Regions from separate parts of the Homo sapiens genome. Here all the other regions are linked to region 1. The links are contacts of gene promoters, found by promoter capture Hi-C in human tissues and cell types (Jung and others, 2019). All regions are on one chromosome and are shown on one strand. The core of a region is centred on a gene start or on the middle of the fragment in contact, and the rest is flanking DNA. Distances in the headings are between cores, read along the strand shown.

Evidence for each region. Contacts are between HindIII fragments. The study calls those that stand out against the background at their distance.
Region 2: a contact is called between the fragment with the promoter of FAM76A here and a fragment that was not itself captured in region 1, in 2 of the 25 tissues and cell types used here (dorsolateral prefrontal cortex and lymphoblastoid cells).
Region 3: a contact is called between the fragment with the promoter of FGR here and a fragment that was not itself captured in region 1, in 4 of the 25 tissues and cell types used here (H1 embryonic stem cells, dorsolateral prefrontal cortex, lymphoblastoid cells and 1 more).
Region 4: a contact is called between the fragment with the promoter of AHDC1 here and a fragment that was not itself captured in region 1, in 6 of the 25 tissues and cell types used here (H1 embryonic stem cells, lymphoblastoid cells, mesenchymal stem cells and 3 more).
Region 5: a contact is called between the fragment with the promoter of IFI6 here and a fragment that was not itself captured in region 1, in 2 of the 25 tissues and cell types used here (IMR-90 fibroblasts and dorsolateral prefrontal cortex).

What each region holds. Positions count from the first base shown.
Region 1 is chr1:27,058,760-27,061,459 of GRCh38, reverse strand. LOC101928391 (a long non-coding RNA gene) reads right to left here. Exons shown (of 8, transcript XR_007065559.1): 7 at 1,380-1,446. Among named protein-coding and RNA genes, the nearest start is that of TENT5B, 47 kb to the right of the region's middle. RefSeq lists a silencer at 2,108-2,402. The HindIII fragment of the contact is 6,810 bases long and covers 1-2,700 here.
Region 2 is chr1:27,724,638-27,727,337 of GRCh38, reverse strand. FAM76A (family with sequence similarity 76 member A) reads right to left here and starts at 1,377. Exons shown (of 9, transcript NM_152660.3): 1 at 1,177-1,377. The coding sequence starts at 1,257. RefSeq lists silencers at 853-1,552, 1,391-2,033. The HindIII fragment of the contact is 12,090 bases long and covers 1-2,700 here.
Region 3 is chr1:27,633,896-27,636,595 of GRCh38, reverse strand. FGR (FGR proto-oncogene, Src family tyrosine kinase) reads left to right here and starts at 1,411. Exons shown (of 13, transcript NM_005248.3): 1 at 1,411-1,531. RefSeq lists a silencer at 2,286-2,335. The HindIII fragment of the contact is 29,896 bases long and covers 1-2,700 here.
Region 4 is chr1:27,602,886-27,605,585 of GRCh38, reverse strand. It overlaps AHDC1 (AT-hook DNA binding motif containing 1), which reads left to right and starts at 1,442. Exons shown (of 9, transcript NM_001371928.1): 1 at 1,442-1,480; 2 at 1,723-1,858; 3 at 2,092-2,189. RefSeq lists silencers at 1,098-1,637, 2,188-2,267. The HindIII fragment of the contact is 10,400 bases long and covers 1-2,700 here.
Region 5 is chr1:27,670,886-27,673,585 of GRCh38, reverse strand. IFI6 (interferon alpha inducible protein 6) reads left to right here and starts at 1,394. Exons shown (of 5, transcript NM_002038.4): 1 at 1,394-1,463. RefSeq lists an enhancer at 1,023-1,362. The HindIII fragment of the contact is 16,144 bases long and covers 1-2,700 here.

The sequences.
Region 1 (2,700 bases), core at 45-2,544:
GGGCCACCCCTGCTTAAAACCTTTCACCAGCTTCCCACTATGCTGAGGAAAAGGTCAGGGTCCCTAAAGTAGCCCGCAATGCCCATACCCCACACACCTGGCCTGCATGCTGGCCTCCATGTATGAGCTGTATGACTTTGAACGAGTTATTTAAACTTGTCTGTGCTTCAGTTTCCTCATTTATAAAATCGCAATAACAGAACCTACCTCAGGACTGTTTGAGGGTAAAATATGCTACATGAGGTGCTTAGAATAGGGCCTGCCATGCGGAAAGTCCTCAAGAAGCATTGCTGCTATTACTGTTATTATTTTTGTCCCACTGTCTCTTGCTCTCCCCGCTAGGATACACACCCCAGCTGCCTGACTGTGGAGCTCCGCCTTCTAACCCCTCTGGCAGCATCCAAAGGCAAAAGGCCACGGCAAAGCTTCTCCTCAGACGTCCTCCTTGAAGACGTCCTCCTTGTTTTATAAGGGGGTGGGGGAACTTTCCAGAACCCCTTTCTGTCTCATTGACTAGAATGGGATTCTATGCCTGCCCCTAAACAAACAGAGGTAGAGAGTGGGGCCGGGCGCGGTGGCTCACGCCTGTAATCCCAACACTTTGGGAGGCCAAGGCAGGCGGATCATGAGGTCAGGCAATCGAGACCATCCTGGCTAACACGGTGAAACCCTGCCTCTACTAAAAAATATAAAAAATTAGCCGGGCGTGGTGGCGAGCGCCTGTAGTCCCAGTGTAGCAGGACGAGCTGCAGACAAAACTCCTCAGACACCGAGTTGAAGGAAGGGGTTTAATCGGCTGGGGGCATCGGCAAGACTCCTGTCTCGAGAGCCGAGCTCCCCGAGTGAGCAATTCCTATCCCTTTTAAGGGCTCACAACTCTAAGGAGGGTGCGTGTGAGGGGGTCGGGATTGATTGAGCAAGCAAGGGGTACGTGACTGGGGTCTGCATGCACTGGTAACTAGATCGGAACAAAACAGATAGGGATTTTCACAGTGCATTTCTATACAATGTCTGTAATCTATAGACAACATAACTGATTAGGTCAGGGGTCGATCTTTAACTACCAGGCCCAGGGTGCAGCGCCGGGCTGTCTGCCTGTGGATTTCATTTCTGCCTTTTAGTTTTTACTTCTTTCTTTGGAGGCAGAAATTGGGCATAAGACAATGTGAGGGGTGGTCTCCTCCCTTACCAGCTACTCGGGAGGCTGAGGCAGGAGAATGGCGTGAACCCCAGAGGCGGAGATTGTAGTGAGCCGAGATTGCGCCACTGCACTCCAGCCTGGGCAACAGCGAGACTCCGTTTCAAAAAAAAACAAAAAACAAAAAAACAACATCAACAATAGAGGCAGAGAAGAAAGGGAATACCATAGTTATACACACCTGACCCAAAGCAGGGCTCTGTTCCCGTAGACTGGTGGTTCTCAGGTTCCAGGAGAGTCAGAATCACCTGAGGGTTTAAAAAAAAAAACAATTTCCAGGCCGGGCACGGTGGCTCATGCTTGTAATCCCCGCACTTTGGGAGGCCAAGGCAGGCGGATCACCTGAGGTCAGGAGTTTGAGACTAGCTTGGCCAACATGGCGAAACCCTGTCTCTACTAAAAATACAAAAATTAGCCGGGCATGGGGGTGGGTGCCTGTAATCCCAGCTACTCCGGAGGCTGAGGCAGGAGAATTGCTTGAACCTGGGAGGCGGAGTTTGCAGTGAGCCGAGATCGCACCACTGCACTCCAGCCTGGGCGACAGAGCGAGACTCTGTCTCAAAAAAAAAAAAAAAAAAAAAAAAGAATCCCAGCGTGGAAGAGGGGAAAAGATGTAACCCAGCCTGCAAATGCGGGCTCCTCCCTAGAGACTGGCATAAGGTGAGTGCCAGCCCAGACGTGGCCATCACTGTAGCTACACAAAGCCTCCAAGGTTTCTGCCAGCTCTGGGGGCTCATGTGCTCATGGCTGCTGTCCTGCTTCTGCTGATTCCTTGCAGCTGTCGCCTTTACTTCTGTCCTGGAGTTGACCCAAATGAGGGGCAAGAACTGCAGGACATTTTCCCCTGCTCCCAGAGCAACTGCGGGTATAAGGCTGTTGGGCTGTCGTGTGAGGGGGATTTTCCTAAAGACACAGCACACAGGGAGAATAACAGAAGTCACCTTCCTGAGGCTGCCCCGCACTTGGGTTCTGAGGACCTTCGCTCCCTCCCCTCCTTCTCTTCTCCTCCCTCCTGTCTCCCCTGCGGCAACCTGAACTACTCGGCTCTCTCCCCGCTCCTCCTCCTCCTCTGCAACTCAGCTCTAGTCCTGCCTGAGGCCGAACCCTTGAACAGGAGGCCAGGGCTGGAAAGTTGTGGAAATGCCCCTGTGGGGAGCCCTGCCAAGGATGCTGAGGCTGAGCCCCAGCCTGGGGGAGGGGGTGTCCTGATCTGAGCAGACCCTGAGGGCAGACAGAAGGCAGCCAAGGTCTAGAGCTGGTGCCTCTAACCACCTCTACCCCAGAGGCTGTGGGATGCTTGGGAGCCAGGATAGGGCCGGGCTTTGGGTCTACACTACCTTGGTCCTGAGATGGAGTCTAGGAACATTGGTGGGGGTGCCAAGCATTCTGTAGAGGTAGGATGGGGTGGGTCCCTCTCACTTCTTCAGCCCTCAAGATTGCATACAACAGGCTCCTAAGAAATCACTGAGGCTGGCTGGCACGGTGGCTCACAGGTGGCTGAG
Region 2 (2,700 bases), core at 128-2,627, 670 kb before region 1:
TTTTCTCCTCTGTAATACTGGCATCACTTCCCTACTGTTGATGTGGGAGTTAAGTAAGAACTTATATGGATTATATGGAACTAGCCATAAATTGTAAAACAAACATATATATGAACAAGTCCCAGACTGGGAATCAGAAGCCCTGAATTCCAGGCCTGGTTCTTCTGCCACTGTGTGATTTTGCGGTTTACTTGTGAAATGAAAGTGCTGGATTAAAATTATTATTTATATATACATAACTTCCTTAAAATCATATATACATATTTTGAGGCCAAAAAGGGCACTCAAGCACTTGCATTCCCCCAGACCTGGTATATAAAAACTGGCAAATGGAAAGTCATGACCATCTGAGGCAAAAGTGACAATTATGAGTTATCCAAATCAGAGACACAAACTGGATTATTGGATAACCTCAACATTATTCTTCAGCCAGTTTGGTGACTTTTTAACTGTTGCCTCACAGCACCTCTAGTCACTTAAAAAGTAAAAGTGGGATAAAGCAACTTAAAAGAAAAAGAGAAGTTGGACCTTCAGGAGCAAAAACTGATCAGCAGCTAGTCAGGGAAGACCGAAGACCACCAACTGGATGCTGAGAAGTGATCCCTCGGATCTGTGAGCCTGACTGTGGGGCTTTTTTAAAACATAAAGCCTTGCTGCCTCCGATTCTGAGACTGGCCGAAAAGTGAGATGCTTAAAAAAAAAAAAAAAATCAAGCCTTGCTACCTCCGATTCTGAAACTGGTCGAAAAGTGCCCGTGAGGAGCCCGAGTTCGACACATTCCTCCAAGGCAGCACCCAACTTTGGAGTTCAGTCCCAGGAGGGGCAGGAGGTCCCCACCAGGGAGACCGCGGCGGCGGGGGAGGCAGCGCAAAGGGATCCCGAAGGCGACCAGTCAGGGCAAGCAGGGGACCCGCTGTCCCTCCCCCGACCTCACGGGGTCCGAGAACAATCCCCACGGTTGCTAAGCACCCGGACACGCCGGCCGCGGGAGCCTGGACCGGGTCCCGGCTCCCGCACGTGCCCCGCCGGCCCCCAGCGGGGTGGGTGCGGCTCCTCAGCCTGGCGGGCCTGCCACACCCTGCTCCGGGGACCCCGCCGGGCGTCCCCACAGAATCTGGAGCTCCGGGCCGCGCCTCCTGCGTCCCCAGTTCCCGGCCGCCGCCCCAGCCCGCGCACCTTGCACAGCTGCTGCCCCTGAGACAGCGCCTCGAAGGGGAAGCGCTGGTGGCACTTGGTGCAGGCGTAGAGCGCCGCCATGTCCGGCCCGGGCCGCGCTCACCGACCCGCCGGCCCGGCCCGCCGATTTATCTGACAGTCTGAGGCACAACCCGGCGGCGGCTGCAGGCTGCTGGCTGCGGCAGGCGGGCGGGCGCAGGCGGGTCGGGGCGGACCCGGGCGGGCTGGGGCGGGCACGGCGACTCTAGACGCCCGCTCACTGGTGGGCTTTGACGTCGATCAAGTGGGAAGGGGCGGAACACGGAGCTTTCGCCCACTCTGATTCGGTCTGGCCTGGAGTACGCCACTGTGACGCTCCAGGCCGCGATTATGTAAAGCGCAGTCACGCGGGGGCGCCACCTGGAGGGGACAGGCTCCCGGCCGGGACCTCGGAAGAGCTTAGGCTCCGCCCTACTTGCTCAGCGTTCCCGCCCTCGCTCCGCCTCTCCACGGCCTCAGGCGCATCTGCGCTTCTCGCGATACCTTCGGGGATTTGTGATGTTTTGGTTTCCATGGAGCTGCCCTCTGGGAGCACGAGGGGTACAATTGGAACGAAGGCGGCGCACAGTTAACTGGAACTCTGCAGCCGTCCAAGCCCAAAGAAGGTGGGGAGCTTGGGAAAGAAGTTCCTCATAATCGGAGCAGGAGGAGCCCGCCCAGCCTCGCTCAAAGGAGGAGACGAGACTCTGAGGGACAATTTAGAAGTGTGTCCTCAATTTAAGACACCTAAATAGGGAACTGTGGGGCTGTGGGCCTTAGGAGAGAAAAGGAGAGCCCCAGAGAGAGCACCCCTATGCTGCGGAAGAGGGACTAAAGAGATGGCAGTCCTTCCAGGAGGGATTGGACAGATATTCAGGCGTCCGGTGGCCTGCAGGCCCCCATCAGAGTGGGCTGCAATTGGCCCAGACCTGCTTCCTACTTTGTTTTCTCCGGTTTCACCCCCAGCTTCTCTCGCAAGCAACCACCTGGTGATTCCTGACGAGGCCTGACTTCCGGAAGGCAAGCCACGCCCTCCGGGCTCCCCTGCCTCTCTTTGGCTCCAGCTTGGCATGTATAGGAGCTGCCCAAGGAATGACAGACTTCTTGTTCTTGAGGTGTTGGCAAAGCTTCCTGCACTGCTGACCTATCCAAGTCCTGCCTTGTAGCTGCTCTTGGGCATAGGTTACTCTTGGCTCTGCCAACCACCCGTACAGGACTAATTGCAGTTTTACCTCAACGTGCGCTTTTTACAATTAAAAACTGACTTAATGGCTTCTATTTCCCTGCCTCAACAAAAAAAATTTACTCTCTCTGAACCCAAATCTGGCTGCTTCCTTGTAGGATCCCCCAAAGATGTGCATTAATCATTAGGATCAGAAAGCAAAGTTTCCAAATCACTGTTCCACAACTAACTACATGACCTTGGATCTATCACTGAACTTCTCACGGCCTCGTTTTTCTCAATTGTACAATGAGGTCATTGTGAGAATCAAAACCAGTACATGA
Region 3 (2,700 bases), core at 162-2,661, 580 kb before region 1:
TGCTTTAAGGCTGAAGTAACAGTGGTGGGAGTGGGGACTGAACCCCAGATTGAGGAGGGGTCAGGGATCCCTATCAGACAGAGAGACTGGAACTGATAGAGGATGCTACCGTTTCTCTTTTTGTTTTTAAAAATCTTTTTCCACATGTTCTAAGATACTCAGTTTTTCTTCCTTTTTTTTTTTTTTTTTTTTTTTCTTGAGACGGAGTCTCGCTCTGTCGCCCAGGCTGGAGTGCAGTGGCGCCATCTCGGCTCACTGCAAGCTCCGCCTCCCGGGTTCACACCATTCTCCTGCCTCAGCCTCCTGAGTAGCTGAGACTACAGGCGCCCGCCACCACGCCCGGCTAATTTTTTGATTTTTAGTAGAGATGGGCTTTCACTGTGTTAGCCAGGACGGTCTTGATCTCCTAACATCGTGATCCACCCGCCTCGGCCTCCCAAAGTGCTGGGATTACAGGCGTGAGCCGCTGCACCCGGCCTTTTCTTTCTTTTTTTTAAAAAAAGTCATTTTCTGCAACAAAACCCACATTCTTTTTTTGTGTTTTTTTTTTTTAAGGCAGGGTCTTGCTCTGTCACCCAAGGTAGAGTGCAGTAGCTCAATCACAGCTCACTGCAGCCTCGACCTGCCTGACTCGAGGGATCCTTCCACCTCTGCCTCTGCAGTAGCTGGGACCACAGGTGCACACCACCACACCGAGCTAACTTAAGAAAAATTTTTTTTGGTAGAGATGGTGTCTCCCTATGCTGCCTAGGCTGGTCTGGAATTCCTGGGCTCAAGCAATCCTCCCACCCAACCTCCCAAAGTGCTGGGATTACAGGCTGAGCCACTGCCCCCAGCCAGTTACTCAGTTTTTCTAAAACTTGGGTGCCTGGGGGAGGCTGACACCCTTCCCACTCCTCTGAAAGGCAGTTTCCTAAGGGAAGGGTCTTCTGCTGCTCACCACCCTTAACAGCCCTGTGTCCCCAGTGCTCAGCCCCTGAGGAAGGGAAGGCGTGCTGACAGGGTCCATGTGATCCATGTCCAGTGGCTCTGGTGACAGCAGTCTGAAGTCAACTGGCTGTGAGAACTCGAGTAAGGCCAGTCCCGATCTGGTCCTCAGTGATGGAGAAAAGCCCCTCTTAACCTCCAATTCAATGATCCTAAAAGAGCAGGTGCTTCGGGGGTGCTGAAACTGCGCTTTTGGAGGGGGCTTTTGGGAAGGCCGGGCTGGGGACTCAGGTCTGGAGGGTGACAGAGCCGACCTCCCGTAAACCAGGGAGGAGGAAGGTGGGGGCGGGTGGGCCTAGGATCTGGGGGCGCCTCCTCGCTGCGGGGAGCTGGCTTGGGGCTAGGGCGTGACTGTCTCCCTGCCACCATCACCGCCCGCCGGCCGTGACTGCAATAAGAGAAGTCCGAGGCGGCTTCCTCCTCCCTGCCCAGCAGGGGCGGCGGTCAGAGGCGGGCAGCACCCCAGTTCTCCCCGCACGCCGGCACTCGCGGCTGCTGGAGCCCCGGCTGGCTCACCCCGGGGCCGGGCAGAATTGGGCTCCAGGTAAGCGACAGCGTCGGGTGGGGACTGGGCAGGTCAAGCAGTGCCCTCCCCCTCGAGGCTCTGGAGAGAGGACTGGGGGTACACGGGAAGAGAAGCCTGAACCTGGGGGTCGGGGGACACATGAGCAAGGTGACAGCCAAAGGGACCCCAGCCCGAAAAGGCCTAAGGAGGAAAACGGGCGACCTGAAAAGCAAGGCTGATAAACCTGGAGGAGAGGGCGGAGGGGAGCACGGGGGAAGCCGACCAAAGGGACCCCCAAAAAGGTCTAGTGGGTAAAATGGAGGGGACTGATAAGAGTTTAGGAAGGGGGCTGAGGTGGGGGAGAAGGATTAAGGGGAATCCCCAGGACGGTCTGGGGGAGAAACTGAAGGGATCGTGAGAGTGGGACTTTGGGGAGAAGCCGACGGGTCTGATGGGTCCAGGAGAGGGGAAATGGGTGGGGGTGCTGGAGGGAACAGGAGAGGGAGCTGGCGGGAAGGGGGTTGAGGAGAACGACTTCTGGAGGACGGAGAACCTGGGGTGCAATTGCGGGTCCAGGAAGTTCCCCTCTTCCGAGCCGGCCGAAGTCGGGGTGAAGCCCACAGCCCGCAGGGTAACGTTAGCGGCCGCGACCGCGGCCCCGCGACCCTCTCGGCCCGCCCTTGCGGTAGGTTCCGGGCTGCAGGGGACTCCTGCCGGGCGCGCGAGGCGTGGGTCCCCGCTTCCTGGGGAAGTCCCCGCCCTCGGCAGGGACAGGCCTCTCCGGGCGCCCCCTCCGCGCCCGCGGCGGTCTCGGCCCGCGCTCCCCGCTGGATCCGGGAATTGCTGCCGCCCCGACGGAAATCCTGCCTTTGACCGCGAGTGCCCGCAGGGGCTGCCTCCAAGGCAACGAGAGGGCGGGCCGCGCTGGGCCGCCGCGGGGCTCCGGGTGGGCGCAGCCCCCTTTGCTCTCCGCCTTCGCCCCCTTTTGGAATCCTCGGTCTGGTGGGTGGGGGGTGGGCTTCCCGACCGAGGTAGGAGGCGATGCCGCTGTGTTCAGGGATCCTGGGGTGGAGGATCTGCTGTTTGAGAGACCTGGGTTCTTAGCAAGACTGGGCCCTTAATTGCTGTGTGACTGTGGGCAAGTTACAGGGCTTCTCTGGGCCTCACTTTCCTCATCTGAACTATGGTGAGAAATGATCCTTGTGTCC
Region 4 (2,700 bases), core at 193-2,692, 540 kb before region 1:
GAGTTGCGGTTGGCAAAATGTCACCAGCTGCCTTTGTCACACACTGGCCAACACCCTGCAAGGCCAAAGGAAGAGTCAGAAACAGGTAGGCCAGAGACAAAGGCACTGCTCTAGGAACTTCAGACCTGGAGCAAGATAGACAAGGCCAGCAGACACAGGGTGTGGAACATCAGACACACAGATGAGGTGGTCCAGTGAGGTGGGACCGCCGCAGGGCCAGTCAGGGCCGGCGTTGGTAGACACCTAGGACACAGGACACGACAGCCACTATGCATTATTCATCTCCGTGTCCCTTGCAAGCCCTGCATACCTCAGTTAACATTTGTTGAAGTGCCAAGAAAGGACACACAGACACAGGGAGAGAAGGTCAGTTACAGAAATGGAGGGAGTCACAACTCCTTGTCATAGCCCAGGGGTTAAGCTTGTGGGGTTTGGAGTTAGTCAGACCCTGGTTCAAATCCAGCTGGGTTCAGCCACTTGCTAACTGGAGAACCTGGACCTCAGTGCCCCCATCTCTAAAATGGAAATAACAGCACTATTTTACCGCAGCAGTTCAGCCATCTCCGGGGGCGGTAACAAGGCCCCCAAGCAGCGCACATTCCCATCTGTGGGATAGGCTAGGCAGGGGCTGGAGAACACATGTGACCTGAAGAGGAGGTAGGTGAAAGTGCTGAGCCCAGCCCCCGGCCGCGGCAGGAGGTCAGCACCGTTCAATCTGAATCCTGCTTCCTGACACAACGCAAATGCTCAGCAGAATTCGGAAAAGGGTGTGTGTGTTCTATCTGCGGATTATCCAGGACTTTTGAGCCCTCGCCGCCCTTGGACATATAGGAAAGCTGGGAGTTGCAAGGGCGAAACCGAGGTCGGAGTTTGAGAGGAGGGGTCACTGAGTGAGGAAGCAGCGCTGGCTGGGTCTCCCCCGCTCCCCCGCCCCAGCAGCCCTCCCGCCATATATACTTGAGCTTTACTCAATAAGAAACCTTTTCAGAAAAGGATAACGTCCCCAGATTGAGAGAGCCGGTCCTCTCCTCTGCCCTCTCCCCCTCCCATTTAATTGGGACGCCCCAGAAAGTCGCAGCCCCTTTGGCTAATCCCCTGGTTCCCTATTCCACTCCCATTCCACTCTCAGACCCCGCCCCTTCACTCCCACCCGCAACCTCCGCTCGATCCAGAGCCCCCCGGTGGAGACAAGGAACACAGGGACCATTCTTAACCCTTGGGGAGGATCTTCGCCCGTTGGTAAACGAGGACGCGCTCCAGCCAGACGAGCCCCAGGCGCGGGGTCCCCGGGGCTCCTGGCCGCGCCGTCGGAGCAGCCGGCGCGGCCCCGCCCTCCCCGCGCGCGGAGCGGCCGGGGCGGGGACTACAAGTCCCGGCGTGCCGCGCGCGCGCTCCCCCCTGGGGTTCCGGATGGTGAGCGGCGAAGGTAAGGCGAGCTCGCAGAGGCAGCGGCGGCGGCGGCGGAGACGGAGAGAGGCAGGCAGGCAGGGCGAGGGCGAGAGACGGAGGGAGGGAGCGAGCGAGGCGGACCAGACAGACAGACAGGCGGGCGGGCGGGCAGAGCGAGCCACCCGCCAGGCTGCGCTCAGCCCCGCTCGCAGCGGAGAGAGCAGAAGGCAGGAGGAGGGAGGGGAGGAGGGGGAGGGAGGGAGAGAGGGAATCCAGCTACCACCACCCAAAGCCAGCGTCTGCTTTCTGTCCTCATTTCCTTTTCCCACCCAGCTTGGAGAGCAGAGAAAGGCAGAGAGAGCGAGAAATAGAGACAGTCTGAGAGACAGACAGACAGCCAGAGAGAGCGGGAGGGAGGAGGGCGGAGGAGGAGGAGCAGGAGGACTACGCGGGGCGCGTTCCCTCCCAGGTTTGCTATTGGGGGGGGTGGGGGCGGGGGTGTCCAGGGCTGGGAGAGTGTGTGCGCGGCGGGAGGGCGAGGGGGGCGCAGAGAGAGCGAAGGAGTGATCGAGGTGGGGGGGCGCCGCGGGAGCGGGGGGCCGTGTCCAGCGGAGTTAGCGGCGGAGAATGTGAGCCGAGGCGCGAGCCATGCTGTCAGCGACGGCGGGCGGCTCAGGGCTCCTCCACGACTCCTCTCCTCAGCAGCCGGGCGCCCGCGTCGCTGCCACCGCCGGAAGACAGACGTCCCCCAAAACCCCTCGCCTGGCTCGGACCCACGGAGCCGGCAGCCCAGCACTCCGGTGAGTGGCGCCTCCTCCCCAGCCCCAGACCCCCGCTGGGGACCGGCCGGCCAGGCTCTTTTGTGCAGCGCACGGGGGGGGCCTGCGTCCCCCGGTCCGGTCCGCTGGACCCGGTGGCTGCGGTGCCCGCGGTGCGATCGGTCTTTGTTTCCACCGGGGCCCGCGGCTCGGCTGGGCTCGGCTCGAAGCCTGGCAGGCAGCGCCGGGAAGGGGGAGGGGGAGGTGGACGGGGAGGGGGGGCGGGGAGGGGGGGTTCTCGGGTTTCCTGGCCGCCCCGCGGCTCCCCCGGCTCGGGGGCGAGGTGCGCGCCCAGCGCTGCCGCGCGCCCCCTCCTCCTTCCCCCTCCCTCCGCCTTTGGATTTAAAACTGCAATTTGCTCTCCAGCTTGCTGAGAATGTGGGGGGGGGGGGAATGAAGGGGGGACCGTGGGAGCGGAGAACAAGGCTGGATTTTAGGATCGGCGCTGGGAAAAGGGGAGACTGCGGAGGGAGGAGCCCCTCCCCTCCAACCC
Region 5 (2,700 bases), core at 145-2,644, 610 kb before region 1:
TTTTGGTATCAGCTGGAAACGGACCACTCTATTACAGCCCCATTTGGGGGTGGCACTGAATAATAGTGAATCCTCCCAGGGGGCAGAACTAGGAGCAGTATACCGTGTTGTTCCCTCTGTATGCAGAGAGAGAGAGAGAGAGATGGACTGAAGTACAGACATACACCAATTCCTAATAAGAGGCAAATGGCTTGGCTGGTTGGTCAAAGGCATGGATGGAACAAGATTGGAAGATTGGGAATAAGCAGGTGTGGGTTAGGGGCATAAGAATGAACTCTGAATGGGCATAAAGCACCTGGATCTCTATGTCTCATGTTAATGCTGACCAGAGATCATCTGCTGCAGAGGAGGCTCTACAGCCCAATGGCCAGGATGTCCCATCCTGTGGATGTCAGCCAGCCTCTAAACTTAGCCTCACTATTGCCTTGCAATAGACCTATGAGTGTCCAAGGTGGTAAGGATGGGGGTTAGAAATGAGTCCAACAACTTGGGCTCCCTCTCACCAAAACTGATCTGGCAATTGCCAAAATATAGCCAATCTGCCAGCAGCAGGTAGCAATATGGCAAAATTTCTCAATGAGAATAGCCAGCCATCTGGTGGCAGGTCAATTATTTCAGACCCCTTCCACTTGGGAGAAGGCAATGATTCATCCTTACTGGAATTTCTATGTTCTCCAAATAGAGGTTGCATTTCTGACCCATAGCACTTCAAGCATCACCATCCAAAGGCTTTAAAGAATGCTCAGTTCATTACCTAGGGCCAGGGGACCCATCTTGAAACTCAAGATCTATCATGATGGCCACATGAACACAGGCTTCACTGGTCTTACCATATGCCCATGACCCAGAAGCAGCCAGCCTGAGAGAACAATGGAACAAAGTGACTTAATTTCCAAAGTTCTGGGGGTTTATAAACAGCATATGGTATGTCACATGACTACTGTGGGATTGGAAAAAGATCATGTAAATAGAGCACTTTGCACAGACCCTGGCATGCAGCAAGTGCTCAATAAATGATAGGTGTTGTTTACTAATTGGACTGAATGGTGAAAGGCCTGTGTGCCCCAGGGGGAGCTGGTGATCAGGCTTCACTAAGCCCAGTATGGCCGTGGCTCTCATCATAGTGTGACATGCTTTGAATACCCTTAGCGGCTCCAAAAGTCCTCAGCTTGAAGTGCATTTTTCTGCCAGCAGGCAGCACACAAATGTTCCCGCTGGGCGGAGCTGGGAGAGAGGGGAAAATGAAACTCTGCAGAGTGCAGGAGCTGGGAGAGAGGGGAAAATGAAACTGCAGAGTGCAGAAATAGAAACTCCGACAGGGATTGGCTGCCTAGGGTGAGACGTGGGAGGATCCACAAGTGATGATAAAAAGCCAGCCTTCAGCCGGAGAACCGTTTACTCGCTGCTGTGCCCATCTATCAGCAGGCTCCGGGCTGAAGATTGCTTCTCTTCTCTCCTCCAAGGTAAACTCAGGAGCTATGAAGTGTGGGCATCAAGCTGCCACCCTCTGCCAGGCTGCCTGTCTGCCTGTAAATCTCATGTTCTGAGAGCCAGGAGGCCCCTTCTCCTGGGAGGCAGCACTCCTGGGTCCCTTTTAGTGCTCTGGGCTGGGACTTGTCTAAGAGGATGGGTTGGAGATTTTTAGGGAGATGGGATGCAAAACCCCAAGTGGCATGAGACCCAGCTTACAGGTGCAATATCAGCGATCTGTGGCCTTAACACTGTCACCTCTTGGAGCCTTAATTACTTCCTCTGTAAAAGGAAAGTTAAGTTGCCTTTGCTGCTCAAAGGACTGGATGATTTTAGAATCCCCTTTATTATAGGATCCAATGTGACAGTGAGTTCATCTTTAAGGATAGATGAAGCCATCTGGAGTGGTTGTTAAAAATGTGGGCTTGGTGGCCGGGCGTGGTGGTTCACGCCTGTAATCCCAGCACTTTGGGAGGCCGAGACCCACGGATCACGAGGTCAGGAGATCGAGACCATCCTGGCTAACACAGTGAAACCCTGTCTCTACTAAAAATACAAAAAAAATTAGCCGGGCTTGGTGGTGGGCGCCTGTAGTCTCAGCTACTCGGGAGGCTGAGGCAGGCAGGAGAATGGCATGAACCTGGGAGGTGGAGCTTGCAGTGAGATGAGATTGCGCCACTGCACTCCAGCCTGGGCGACAGAGAAAGACTCCATCTCAAAAAAAAAAAAAAAAAAATGTGGGCTTGGGTATTAGCCAATTGTGGGTTTAAACCCTGACTTTGCCATGACCTGGCTAGGCAGCCTTGGGAATATTACTTAACCTCTCTGAGCTTCAGTTTCCTTATCTATAACATGTGGTTGATAACAATGGTACCTACTTCGTGGTGTTGTTATAGGTACAAGTGGACTGCGTGCCATAAAGTGCTAAGTACTCAATACATGAGAGGAGTTTCTTGTTTTTCTTTTTAACTTAAGAAAATAGCATTGATCTGACAAAGATCATATTAGAGGTGAGTCTGAGGGCATATGCATTTTCCAGTTTTGTGGTATAAAGGAAAGAGCATAGGTTCATGAATTCTGACTGTCTTGAATGTGTACCCATGTTGCACAATTTGCTGTGTGACCTTTATCCCTTGTGATATTGTAAAATATATTTTTTCATCCCCCAGTTCCTGGCATACAACTCCTAAAATCCTTGGAATCTTCAAAGTGATAAATATCTTTTGAGTG